Regions from separate parts of the Homo sapiens genome. Here region 1 is linked to region 2. Evidence: promoter capture Hi-C in 16 types of primary human blood cells and fetal thymus (Javierre and others, 2016). All regions are on one chromosome and are shown on one strand. The core of a region is centred on a gene start or on the middle of the fragment in contact, and the rest is flanking DNA. Distances in the headings are between cores, read along the strand shown.

Region 1 (6,497 bases), core at 3,176-5,675, 470 kb before region 2:
GGGTGAGGAAAGCATGTGAGAGAAACTGTAACCCTGTAAACAACACTAACGGGTTCTTTGAACAAATAGTTTTGAACAGAACAGATAAGAGTGAGTCGAAGCACTGATTTAACTAATTGGTGATATAATCAAATATAATTTCCAGTAGTTAATCAGAACCACAGTAATAATAACTGAGGAATAGGGTGTAAACAAATAACAAATAATTAAAAGCCATTTTATTGTCAATACTGACTGTCATACAACTGAAACACTTGGAAGGAAAATCACAAGAATCCACAAAAGGACAGATTCAGAGAAGTGCAAGGGACAAAGTATCTACAATAGAAAATCATTTCGTGACATTGACTTCTTTCTGTCCAGCTGTAAAAGAGGGAACACAGAGTCAATATCTATAGAGCACGTTTCAATTACACTAAGAATTTAAAAAAGAAAAAGAAAATAAAGAAAATTATTGTATTGCAGAGTTTTCCAATGACCACACAATTAGCCAGGACTTTAAGCTTCTTCTCTTGGTCGTCATTTCCCTTGCTGTCATTCTGTGACCTCCTGGGTGAATCTGTGGCTGACACATCACAAGTGTGTTAACAATTCTTGGCAGTTACTGTCAGTGCTCAGATCTGTAGGCTGGAAAAGTCTCTGTTCGATGAAGCTTCAGAGGGCTGGAAACATCTTTTCCAAAAAGAATTTAAAATCAACAGTTACATTTCAAGAAAGCCCACAATCAAATTAGGTGGCAACAACTTTCTCTATAACAGAAATAAGTAAATGTACTTAAGGCAGAATTTTTTCCAAAGGCCTCTCAGGATGATATGTAAATGAGTCACAGAGATTGCATGATTTACGTATCATTTGCATGTGGCCTTTGGGCTGAGCCATGGTCAGTCCATTAGCAATTATTTTCTTCCTTAATTTTTCATCTGCATCAATCCCCATATCCAGGGTATTCAGGAGAAATGAGATAGAAACAGAACTATGGAAACTTTTAGCTAGAATATTCTGGAAACCTGAGCAGCAATAAGGCAGTCTTATGCTTATACTTTGGTAATCTTGTAAATGTTAAGGAGAACTTCCTAAAATTCATTTAGCCTTTATTATTTCAGGTTTAGATTTCAGACCAAACAGAGTTTAAAAAGTCAAGAAGGCAACACACAAGATCCCTATTAGCCCCCTTTGTGACATATTAATAATATAAGGGTTGTCAAGCATTTTCTAGAAAGAGCCAGACACTAAATATTTTAGGTTTTGCAGACCATATGGTCTCATTGCGACTACTGAGCCCTGCTGCCTGTAGCACAAAAGCAGCCACAGTTAATATGTAATGAATGTCGTCCTAATAATGCTTTATTAATGAAAATAGTCAGCAGGCTGGATCTGGCTCACAAGCCATTGTTTGCCAATCCCTGTAGATAATGCGTCCCTGATTTAACAAAAACTAGAGGTTCTACTGCCACCTGCTGGCCAACGGTTACCGCAAGCAAAGAAATGTACACGGCTAGGTGAAGATCTCAGGACTCACCGCAAAGCCTTTGGAACAAACTTCCGCAGCCTTGGTGAGTAAATGTGTGGATCAAGCAGGCACAAGAAACAGGATTGCAGCCAGTGGAGCATGTCCGCCCCACCCACACACATTCAAAACAATGTTGTTTTTATTTTATTTTATTTTATTTGTATGTATTTTTTTTCGCCCCGGCTGCAGTGCAGTGGCGTGATCTCAGCTCACTGCAGCCTCAACCTCTTGAGCTCAGGTGATCCTCCCACCTCAGCCTCCCAAGTAACTGGGACCACAGGTGTGTGCCACCACACGTGACTAATTCTTGGATTTTTTGTAGGGAGGGGGTCTCGCCTACATCCACCAGCCATGTGGCCTGGAGTAAGACCTTAACCTCCAAAGGTCTCTGTTTCTTCAGTCATTGAAATGGAGACCATAGTCCCACTCTCACCAACTCCCATGGTTGTCAGGAGAACCCCATAAGGCTACATGGAAGACGCCTGGTTCAGTGACACAACTGTTTAGTGCCACTCTTTGATTTCCTCAAATTATCTTAGGTCCGATCTATGATATAGGTGCCTAGTTTTTCTTGTTTTTGTTTTGAAACAGTGATGCTATCTTCCAAGGCAATTCCCACAGAAGAGTTCGGAAAACACTGGAGCAATGAAGCACCTTGGCCTAAGGGTAAAGATTGCTGAGATGATAACTTTGAGAAGGAGGTGAGAGAGTTAGAGGAACATTGTACTGAGGCCAGACACTCCGGTGCTCATGTGCAACGGCCTTGGGGCTAGTCTCCCACTTCCTCTCCTGTTCTCTTGCAATCCCTTGAATGAAAATATCGATTAAATCTGACACTGCCATGCTGAGGACCCTCTAATGCTTCCCCTCACACTTAGAATAAGCAAGTCTTGATTACCTGTATTCACCACCCCGGCTGTCTCTTTATGTCCCTTAGGCACCAGCCACACTGGCTCCTTCCTGATCTTTGAATGCCCGCAGCTCATTTCTGACTCAGGGCCTTTGCATTTGCTGACCTCTCTATGGAGAATGCCTTCCCCTGGCTCTCGGTATGGCTGCCTCTTTTAGACTTAAGGTCTTGGGGTGTTGCAGGGGCTTCCACTGACTACCCCATCTCAAGAAGTCCCTTTGTCAGCATCTTCTCAAAACCAACAGCTCTGCCTCACTTTCTTTATCATAAAAACTTTCTTTTCCACTGTTCCATATACCAAATCTGAAATTAACTATGTCTGCTTGATTATGGATTGTGACTCTCCATTAGATTATAAGCTCCGAGAGGGAAGGAATATCCCTGCCTAGGAGTCCCAGGTATGTCTGTCATCTAGCACAGCGCTTGGCCTAAACTAGATGCTCAATAAACGTTTACTGAGTAAACAAAGAATGGATGGATGGAAGAATGAGAGAGAAAAACCTTAAAATCTTTGTTACTTACTAGATAGGTAGTCTTGGACCCATTAATAACCCTTCAAATTCTCAGTTTCCTAACAGCAAATGAGAATAAAATACCCTTTCGGGCAGCTGTTTTGGGATCTAAATGAGATCATGTATGTTAGGTCCCAGCGGAAAGCTGGTACACAGTAGGTCCTCAGAAAGAGTAGCTTTTAGAAAGACCCCATTGAATATGGCTTGTCTCCCTCGTAATGATGAAATCTGAGATTTCAGCACTGCACTGGTGGCACGTGAATGCTTATTCATATAACAAGAAGGAAAAGAAGTTTCATGTCCAAATAGATGTGCAGAGCTTTGGTTTAAACAAGTTTAATCAGGTTTTTCATTGCAGGGCATCTCAGAGCCCTGAAATTATTGATTTGTTTTCTGACTCTCCATGAGAACTTAACATGTAGCATTTCCCCCAGACGCGTTTGACCACAGTAACCTTTCTTAGGGGAAAGGTGCTGTCTACCAGAGTTAGCTTTCCAAGGAACATAATTTGGGAAATGCTACTGATGTAACTGCTGTTATTTTATCCAATGCATTCCTAAAAGAATCCAGTGAATAGTATTCAACATAAACTTGTTGATTGCTTCTGTAAGTTTCTTCCATAGTTTTTTTGTTTTTTTTTTTTTTAACTGAGACAGAGTTTCACTCTTGTTGCCCAGGCAGGAGTGCAGTGGCATGATCATGGCTCACTGCAACCTCTGCCTCCTGGGTTCAAGCGATTCTCCCACCTCAGCTTTCCGAGTAGCTGGAATTACAGGCGCCCGCCACCATGCCCAGCTAATTTTTGTATTTTTAGTAGAGGTGGGGTTTCACCATGTTGGCCAAGCTTGTCTTGAACTCGAGATCTCAGGAGATCCACCCAACTCGGCCTCCCAAAGTGCTGTGATTACAGGTGTGAGCCACCACGCCCAGACAGTTTTCATTATAAACCTACTTCCAATGTTGATTTTGTATCTGCATAATCATAGAAGAGAATTTCTATGAAAATTTTAAAACGACGTGGGAGAAGCAGTGAAGGTAGATTAGGTATGTCTTGTGTGGCACGTGTCAAAACCAGCCACCTCCCTTTCCCCACCAAAAACTGTAGTAAAATGATAATTCCCAAATCAACCAGCAGGGGGCTCTCGAAGACTACATTTGAAGAAAATGACCATTATTCTCAAACCAATTTGTTAAATTCCTCCTTAAGGGTCTGTATGATTTCCAACCTTAACCTCCAGATTTGCCAGAAAAAAAAAAAAAAAGCCTGAAATTCATCAATGTAGGTGAATTGGCCAGAGGAATTACAACCCATAATCATCAGCAAAACAAGAAGAAATTAAAGGCTCTGTAACTTCATCATATGGCACACCCCAGGCCCCCAAGTCATTAACTTTTCCCAATCCTATTTCCTTTTTCTAAGGGGTATGAAAAGTAGGGGAGAGGGAAGGTAGGTAGTATAGGTAGAAGAATAAAACTTTTTTTTTAAATGTACTTGTTTAAATAGCCACTTTTGATAAGCAAGATAATTTTAGGTACTCTGTGAACATCTTTTAAATCTTCAATACTTATTATTTATTTTATTGTCTATTAAAAAGCATAACTAGCTGGGTGCAGTGGCTGATATCTATAATTCCAGCACTTTGGGAGGCCGAGGCAGGAGGACTACTTGAGCTCAGAAGTTTGAGACCAGTCTGGGCAACATAGTAAGACACCCTCTCTACTAAAAATAATAAATTAGCTGGGCTTGGTGGCACACACCTGTAGTCCCAGCTATTTGGTAGGCTAAGGCAGGAGGATCACTGGTGCCCAGGAGGTTGAGACTGCAGTGAGCCATGATCGCACCACTGCACTCCAGCCTAGGCGAAGAGCCAGACCCTGTCTCAAAAAAAAAAAAAAAAAAAAAAAACAGTATAACCAGTGGATATAACAGTATTAAGGTAGTAAAATATGCTTTTTTTAAAGAAGTATATTAAAATAGAAGAGAGTAAAATCGAGTAACATTCTGGTATGTATATGACAAAAATTGTGATGATATAACTCAAATATTGCAAACATTTTTGAAGTTTAAGTGAGAATCAGTGGCATTGTGACAACCCAATCTAACTCACTCTCTCTGCAGAGAAATCTTGGAAGGTAAGCTTATTTGTCAATTATTAATTCAGTCGTTTGCTCAGCTGCTCACAGAGGCACTCAGTATCTTTTTTTTTTTTTTTTTTTTTTTTTTTTTTTGCAGCATCTGCTATGTGCCATGCTCTCTGCTAGTGAACAGAGCACAGAGTCATGAAAACTAAAATGTAAATACCCCCAGTGCTTTCTTAACATTATGCATTCTTTCGACAAATCCTGATGGAAGGCATACAAGGTGCCGGGGGATAAAATGATAAAGATAGAAGGAGGCACAGCTCTCCTGCCCTCCTGTACATTATTGCTTCCTGGGAGAGCTGACCATGAGTCAATTGGCCACATAAATATGAAATGAAAACCGGCCATCATCTGCATCTTATGAGTGCACGTCATCAGAGATGTCCACTCCAGTTACAAGAAAGTCCTGAGGGCTTTCTTGGAGCCTGAGGGGCGCTGGAGGTGAGACCTGGAGGTGAGCAGGAGTTAACTAGGATGAGGGACGGGCGCAGCATACAGGAAAAGCTGCCTGGGGGAGAAAGGACCAACAGCAAAGACTGAGAAAAAAATGCTGTTGTGACCAGGGTTCAGAGCGGGCATGGAGGACTGAGGGTTCAGAGCGGGCATGGAGGACTGAGGGTTCAGAGCGGGCATGGAGGACTGAGGGTTCAGAGCGGGCATGGAGGACTGAGGGTTCAGAGCGGGCATGGAGGACTGAGGGTTCAGAGCGGGCATGGAGGACTGAGGGTTCAGAGCGGGCATGGAGGACTGAGGGTTCAGAGCGAGCATGGAGGACTAAGGCCATAGTCTTCCATGGTCATTCATTCATTCTTGCATTCAATTATTCAGCAAATTTCTGCACGTAAACTACGTGTAGTCCAGTGCACTCTATTTCCAGTTTGGTGGTCTTGTACCTCATCATTAAAGAGTTTTTTTGCGCGGAACTTGCAGTGAGCCGAGATCGCGCCACTGCAGTCCAGCCTGGGCGACAGAGCGAGACTCTGTCTCAAAAAAAAAAAAAAAAAAAAAAAAAAAAGAGTTTTTTTACAAGTATCCCCCACAAAGGCGCATAACATAATAAGCTATTCTTATGTACTATGAAATGAAAAACAAAACAAAACAAATATGTTTGAAAGGATAGGTTTAAATAGAATTTTTTTTTTTTGAGATGGAGTTTTGCTCTTGTTGCCCAGGCTGGAGTGCAATGGTGCAATTCTGGCTCACTGCAACCACCGCCTCCCAGGTTCAGGTGATTCCCCTGACTCAGCTGGGATTACAGGCACATGCCACCACGCCCAGCTAAATTTTGTTTTTTTTTTTTTTTTTTTGAGACGGAGTCTCTCTCTGTCACCCAGGCTGGAGTGCAGTGGCGCTATCTCGGCTCACTGCAAGCTCCGCCTCCCGGGTTCACGCCATTCTCCTGCCTCAGCCTCCCGCGTAGCTG
Region 2 (6,348 bases), core at 935-3,434:
TAACCTCCGCCTCCCGAGTTCAAGCGATTCTCCTGCCTCAGCCTCCTGAGTAGCTGGGATTACAGGCATGCACCACCACACCCGGCTAATTTTTGTATTTTTGGTAGAGATGGGCTTTCACCATGTTGGCCAGGCTGGTCTCGAACTCCCAACCTCAGGTGATCCGCCCACCTCGGCCTCCCAAAGTGCTGGGATTACAGGCGTGAGCCACTACACTCAGCCAGAGCTATTCTTTTTCACCACCGTCAGCACATAAAACGTTTGCCTCACACTGCCCCACACATACTGACATGGTAGGCATTCTGATCCCCCCCACTTTCCTCTTGGTGATAATTCTCATTTAAGAAATACTTCCAATATTCTGAGACACTCTGGTTTAAGAAAAAGTGACATAACATAGCATGATGTATATGGGTGTACTATTTAGGGCCCAGCCTAGAATCAGAAAATATTGGGTCTGAATCCCACCTGAGCCAATGGTAACGTCTGTGACATTGGGCAAATTACTTAGCTCTGTAAGAGTCAAGGGTTTTTTTGTTTGTCTTTGATTTTTTTTTGTTTTTTATTTTATTTCATTTTATTGACATTGGGCTGAGATGAGAACTAAACGGAAAAAATGATGTAAAATGTCTAGCTCAGTGCCTGACTTATCATAAGCCCTAGAAAGCTTTCATGAGAATATTATATAACATATGGAATCTACATACTGTATGCAATCTATACTATATTATGTATATTTAGTGTGTATTGCATATAACATAATCTATAGTGTATGCTGTAACATATATACCATACAATGTATATATAAATATGTACAAGATTCATAAAGTTTAGTATATATCAATAGCTATTATTTTTATTAACATAAACAGTCATTAGCCCCTCCAGACAAATCAGAAATGATGGTGTTAAAGCTTAAGTTGGACTGCAAAAGATTTTTAAGAAACAAACTAGAGGCTTACAAAAGAATTTACCAGGGAAGGATTTGCCAACACTTGGGGCAAAAATGACTGAGACACGTAATTGAAAAGCAGGGCGAGGAAACAGAATGTCCCTCCCCTCCTCCCTGGCTGGTGGTAGTTTTGTATTGGATCAGGTTGAAAGGATTCGAGCCACTTTAAAACAATCAACAAAAATCTCCAACTTCCGTTCCTGAATTAGCAAAGCGAGTTCTACTCTTGCCAGCCGCGGTAACTCTAGAAATTGTGTATGTTTGTCACTGGACCTGCCTAGGACGCACCTTGGGGGAGAGGGGGAGTACTGGGGGCGGTGGTTTCAAGCTCTGTGTGCCCCTCCTTTGCACAAGGTAGTCGGTGTAGAAGAACAGAGGCGGGCAGTGGACATAGGGGAGGTGGCCCAGCCTGAATTCAAGCATCGTTGGTGCAAGCCACGCTCTCAAGGCGCATTTCCTAACTTCCTAAAGAAGTAACAACAGCAACTAACTTTTATTGACTGTTGACTATAGACAAGGCTTCGTTGTTGCCGCTTTACGTGCATTAATTCATTTAATCTGCAAAACAACCAAACATGAAACAGCAGGAAGGAAATTCTACAAACTCCCCTTCTTGCTCAAGTTAAGAAAGTCTCCTCTTCTGGTGCATTTCAGTAAGACTCAAATCCTCCCCACCCTGGGAGGCGCAGAAAGCCAAACTTCCTCCAAAAAAAAAAAGGCAAAAAAAAAAAAAAAATCACTTCAGTCCAGGCTGGGGGTATCTGGCTCCCCGGGAGGCGCCCGGGCTCCCCGGGGCCCTGGCAGACGCCGGCAGCTTTTCTGGGCCCGCACTCGGGGACCTCGCCCGCCCGGCATCGCGATTGTGCAAGCGCCGGGCGGCAACCACGGCCGCCGCTGCCGGCTCCTGCCCGCCGGGGGAGGGCGGGGAGGCGCGTTCGAAGCACACCCGGTGAACTCCGGGCTTCGCATGACTTCCTGGGGGTTATCTCCGGGGTGGAGTCTGCCGCCCCCACCCCACCTCCCGCGCCCAGCGAACATAGCCCCGGTCACCCCAGGCCCGGACGCCCTCGCTCACCTCGCTGACTCCATCCTCCTTCCACCCCCCCTCCCCTGGGTCCCGCGTCCCTCGGAGTCTGGCCAGCCGGGGGCCACTCCGCCCTCCTCTGCGTGCTCATTGGCCACCCAGGGCATGCTCTGTCTCCATAAATGCATGGTCCCTGGGCATAGGAACATGGAGAGGGACAGGAGGAAACGCAGCGCCAGCAGCATCTCATCTACCCTCCTTGACACCTCCCCGTGGCTCCAGCCAGACCCTAGAGGTCAGCCTTGCGGACCAACAGGAGGACTCCCAGCTTTCCCTTTTCAAGAGGTCCCCAGACACCGGCCACCCTCTTCCAGCCCCTGCGGCCAGTGCAAGGAGGCACCAATGCTCTGAGGCTGTCGCGTGGTGCAGCGTCGAGCATCCTCGCCGAGGTCCTTTCTGCTGCCTGTCCCGCCTCACCCCGCTCCATCACACCAGCTGGCCCTCTTTGCTTCCTTTTCCCAGAATCGTTAAGCCCCGACTCCCACTAGCACCTCGTACCAACCTCGCCCCACCCCATCCTCCTGCCTTCCCGCGCTCCGGTGTCCCCCGCTGCCATGAGCTCCCCCATCAGCAAGAGCCGCTCGCTTGCCGCCTTCCTGCAGCAGCTGCGCAGTCCGAGGCAGCCCCCGAGACTGGTGACATCTACGGCGTACACGTCCCCTCAGCCGCGAGAGGTGCCAGTCTGCCCGCTGACAGCTGGTGGCGAGACTCAGAACGCGGCCGCCCTGCCGGGCCCCACCAGCTGGCCACTGCTGGGCAGCCTGCTGCAGATTCTCTGGAAAGGGGGTCTCAAGAAACAGCACGACACCCTGGTAAACCCCTTTTCGCGCCCCTGACTCTCTCCTCCCTCTTCCGCCCTCCCAGTGGCGCTCCAAACCCTCCCCGACATGCGCGCCTCGGGCGCATGGTGCGCTTCGGCGTCTGGGCAGGGAGGGTCCCCGGTCCCCTAGGAGGAAGGAGGCGGGAGGAGGGAAAGCGCTTCGGGCACGGCGGAGGATGCGCGCTGACACCGCGCTGTGCCCGGCCGGCTGCAGGTGGAGTACCACAAGAAGTATGGCAAGATTTTCCGCATGAAGTTGGGTTCCTTTGAGTCGGTGCACCTGGGCTCGCCATGCCTGCTGGAAGCGCTGTACCGCACCGAGAGCGCGTACCCGCAGCGGCTGGAGATCAAACCGTGGAAGGCCTATCGCGACTACCGCAAAGAAGGCTACGGGCTGCTGATCCTGTGAGTCCAATCCGAGGGACCTGGGCATGCGGCCAGACCTGATGAGCCTGACGGCGCCTGGAAATTGTGAAGAGGCGGAGTTAGAGTTCCCTGGGGTTGGAAGCTTCTTACGTAGGGCGGATACCAAAGCCCCTCTCCCGTGCCATCGCAACCCTGAGCTCTTGTACAGATTAGAGTCGGTCCACGGAAAAGCCGTGCTGTGCACCCAGCACCTGCGTTCTCTCTGGCAACAGGGCAGGGCCACACCCTCCCATCAAAGAAACGCCAAAACAGGGTTGTACCAACTGTGGTGTTCAGACTCTTGGGCAGGATGAGGTTCTGAAGTCAGCGTACCAGGCAAACATCTTATACAAACAAAATTATCCCTTAAAACTCCCTGAAACACCTTGTAAGCTCAAAAGCGAGGAGTTAGCCTCTTTGGCTTTTTACAGTGACATTTTCTGCAGAGGATTGGGGGACATGCCTTATTTCTACTTGTAAAGGTGGAATAAGGAGGGATATCAAAGTTGTGTTTTAGGTCGACAAATGCTACTATGGGATGTGATTCTTCTGCTTTTTAGTTGTTAGCATTTAACAAGTTAGCACCTTTATTTACCCCCAAACTGTAATGCCTAATCGTTATATTTTCCAGGATATAATGACTGGAATTAAAAACCCTATTAATTCACGGTGCTTCACAGGCTGTATGGTCTGCTATGGGGCAGGTGCCTACAAGTGCACGATCGCAAAAGGCTTTTTATTACTCCAGTGACTCTCTGACTGTATGTTATTATTTGGAGGCGATGGCAAAATTCTAAATCTGAGATATTTTGTAAATATGAAGCCCACACCAATGAGTTGAAAGAAGACAAGATTCTTCCCTCAAACAGATCTGAGTTGCTGGTGATGGGGTGTTCACATGCCCCCTTTTACCGCTAGGAATTGTCCCCAGGCCTCCCAGCCCCACTCCCTGCAAGGACACCTCAAAATCCCTGAACCCAAATTATCTGGACTTCAACTTTTTGGTGCAATCTTTGACTAGGAGGAAAGGTGCTTTTTCATCCTATTGTCAAACTATTGTCAAAAGATGATCACTATTTTATCCCAAATATTCTGATGCTAATATTCTCTGGCTATTTCTTGGCATGATTCTCAGTGTTTGTTTGATTTTATGGTTCCTGAAGTTGCAGCTGGAGTATTTCTGCATCTCCTTCTTTTCTTTTCAGTGTGCTCTAAATGTATTCCTGCTTCTCTCACAGGGAAGGGGAAGACTGGCAGCGGGTCCGGAGTGCCTTTCAAAAGAAACTAATGAAACCAGGGGAAGTGATGAAGCTGGACAACAAAATCAATGAGGTCTGCAGGCTGGGGCCAGCTTTCCTGGGGCTCGTGGGGACATAGGGATATTGGTGGAGCTTCAAGTCACAGCTACAAAGAACAAAGGAAAAAAGAATGCAATTCGGGTGATTCAAAGTGGGGGTCTTCTCTTTCTCTCCATTCCTTCCTACAGCCTCCTCCCCACCAAACCCTTATTTCTCCCTCCTCCACCCTCTTTTAAAGTCATATCACAATGAGGGAGCAATGGAGAGTGTGGACTTTGGTATTCTACAGCCCTGGATTTGAACCCCAGCTTTCCACTCCCTGGCTATGAGACCTGGCTATATACCACTTACCTTCCCTAAGCCTCAGTTTCCCCATCTACAAAATGGGAGTAACAGTTCCCACCCCACGGGTTTGCTGTGAGAATTAAATGAGATAACATTGTAAAGTTCTTAAGTAGTGATATTTGAGCTGGGTTTTGCAGGAGGAGTCTGAAAGCAGAGAAAGTGGGGGAAGGCATTAAGGCAGACAGAGTAGCCTTCTGAAAACAGGGAGGCATGAAATGACGTGGTGTGTTCAGAGAATCGGTCATTTAGTGTAGCTGATGTGAGGCTTTCTCTGAAATGATACTGGATAGGTCTTAACAATATTTTTGTATTATACTAAGGTATTTGGACATTATCCCTTAGCCAGCACGGAGTCAAAGGGAGTTTTAAGCATAAAGTAATCTCTTTTTACTTCTGTTCACTTTGGATGTTTATTTTGAACTGGATGCGTCCCCAGATGGGATCATATAGGTGAAGGATTGCAAACTCAGAAGCTTCCAGGGCTCACATGACTAATATAAAATAATAAGGCAGACCCAGTAAAAATTTCAGGAAACGTGATAGTGCATGCCCCTCCCAGGAGGGACAGCAGCCCCAGTTCCAGCAAACGAATGCCATGTCAGAATGCAGACCTCATGTCACCAAGTCTCATAATTATTATTTACATTTTTAAACTAGTAGTGGTAAATCCATATGTTCATATGAAACCTCTTGTTTTTTTTAATGGTAACAAATTCAAAGAACTTTTAAATGCGCTATGCGGGCAAATTAAACTTGCAAACTAAATCCACACATGTGGGCTGTATGGCCACACCAGCTCACGGCAGGGTCCAGGATGGCAACTTATCAGCTCTGTGTGCATAAGTGAGTGACTTGGCCTCTTTAAGCCTCAGCTTTCTCATCTACTACATGGGAAATGAGTAGAGACGGTACCTACTACTACTTGGTTGTCAGAGGATCAACCAATACACTTCGTACAGTGTTTGGTACCATATGGACCTCATTAAATGTGAGGCATTAGTTATTGAAAACTCTGGTTTATGAAACTGGCATCCAAAGGTCTTATGTGACTATCCCAAGGTCATAGACTACTTAGGGAAGGAGCTGTGTCCAGAATTGGTAGATCTTCTGGTTCCAAGTTCAACATGCTTAACATAACCACCAACCAATAAAGAGACGTTTGCTTGCCCAGATGTGGAAGGGCACACCTCAGGATAGCTGCTGCAACACAATCCTTGAGATGCTGGGCCAACAGGGACAGTTAGCTGATTCCTTTGTGGTTTTATTCCCCCATTCTGATTAGAAAAAAAAAATGTTTTCCTTTTCTTAAATTGCCAGAATTATTTTTAGATCAAAAGCTGAAACTTAAGCTTCAGGGTGGCTTCAGGAAAAGCTCAGGAAATAACCCAGGACGAGGTCATTAGGGGATAAGGTGGGTTCCCAGGGAGAATATATAATTAGTGTG

Evidence for each region. The method cuts DNA at HindIII sites, captures the fragments that hold promoters and counts their contacts. A CHiCAGO score of 5 or more calls a contact.
Region 1: a contact is called between a fragment that was not itself captured here and the fragment with the promoter of CYP24A1 in region 2, in 5 of 17 cell types (monocytes, endothelial precursors, M0 macrophages and 2 more). The highest score is 8.7, in monocytes.

Annotation. Positions count from the first base shown.
Region 1 is chr20:54,644,590-54,651,086 of GRCh38, reverse strand. It overlaps DOK5 (docking protein 5), which reads right to left. Exons shown (of 8, transcript NM_018431.5): 8 at 1-672. The coding sequence ends at 608. Among named protein-coding and RNA genes, the nearest start is that of DOK5, 170 kb to the right of the region's middle. The HindIII fragment of the contact is 1,294 bases long and covers 3,779-5,072 here.
Region 2 is chr20:54,169,822-54,176,169 of GRCh38, reverse strand. It overlaps CYP24A1 (cytochrome P450 family 24 subfamily A member 1), which reads left to right and starts at 2,184. Exons shown (of 12, transcript NM_000782.5): 1 at 2,184-2,848; 2 at 3,071-3,261; 3 at 4,500-4,593. The coding sequence starts at 2,591. RefSeq lists an enhancer at 1,961-2,554. The HindIII fragment of the contact is 2,450 bases long and covers 917-3,366 here.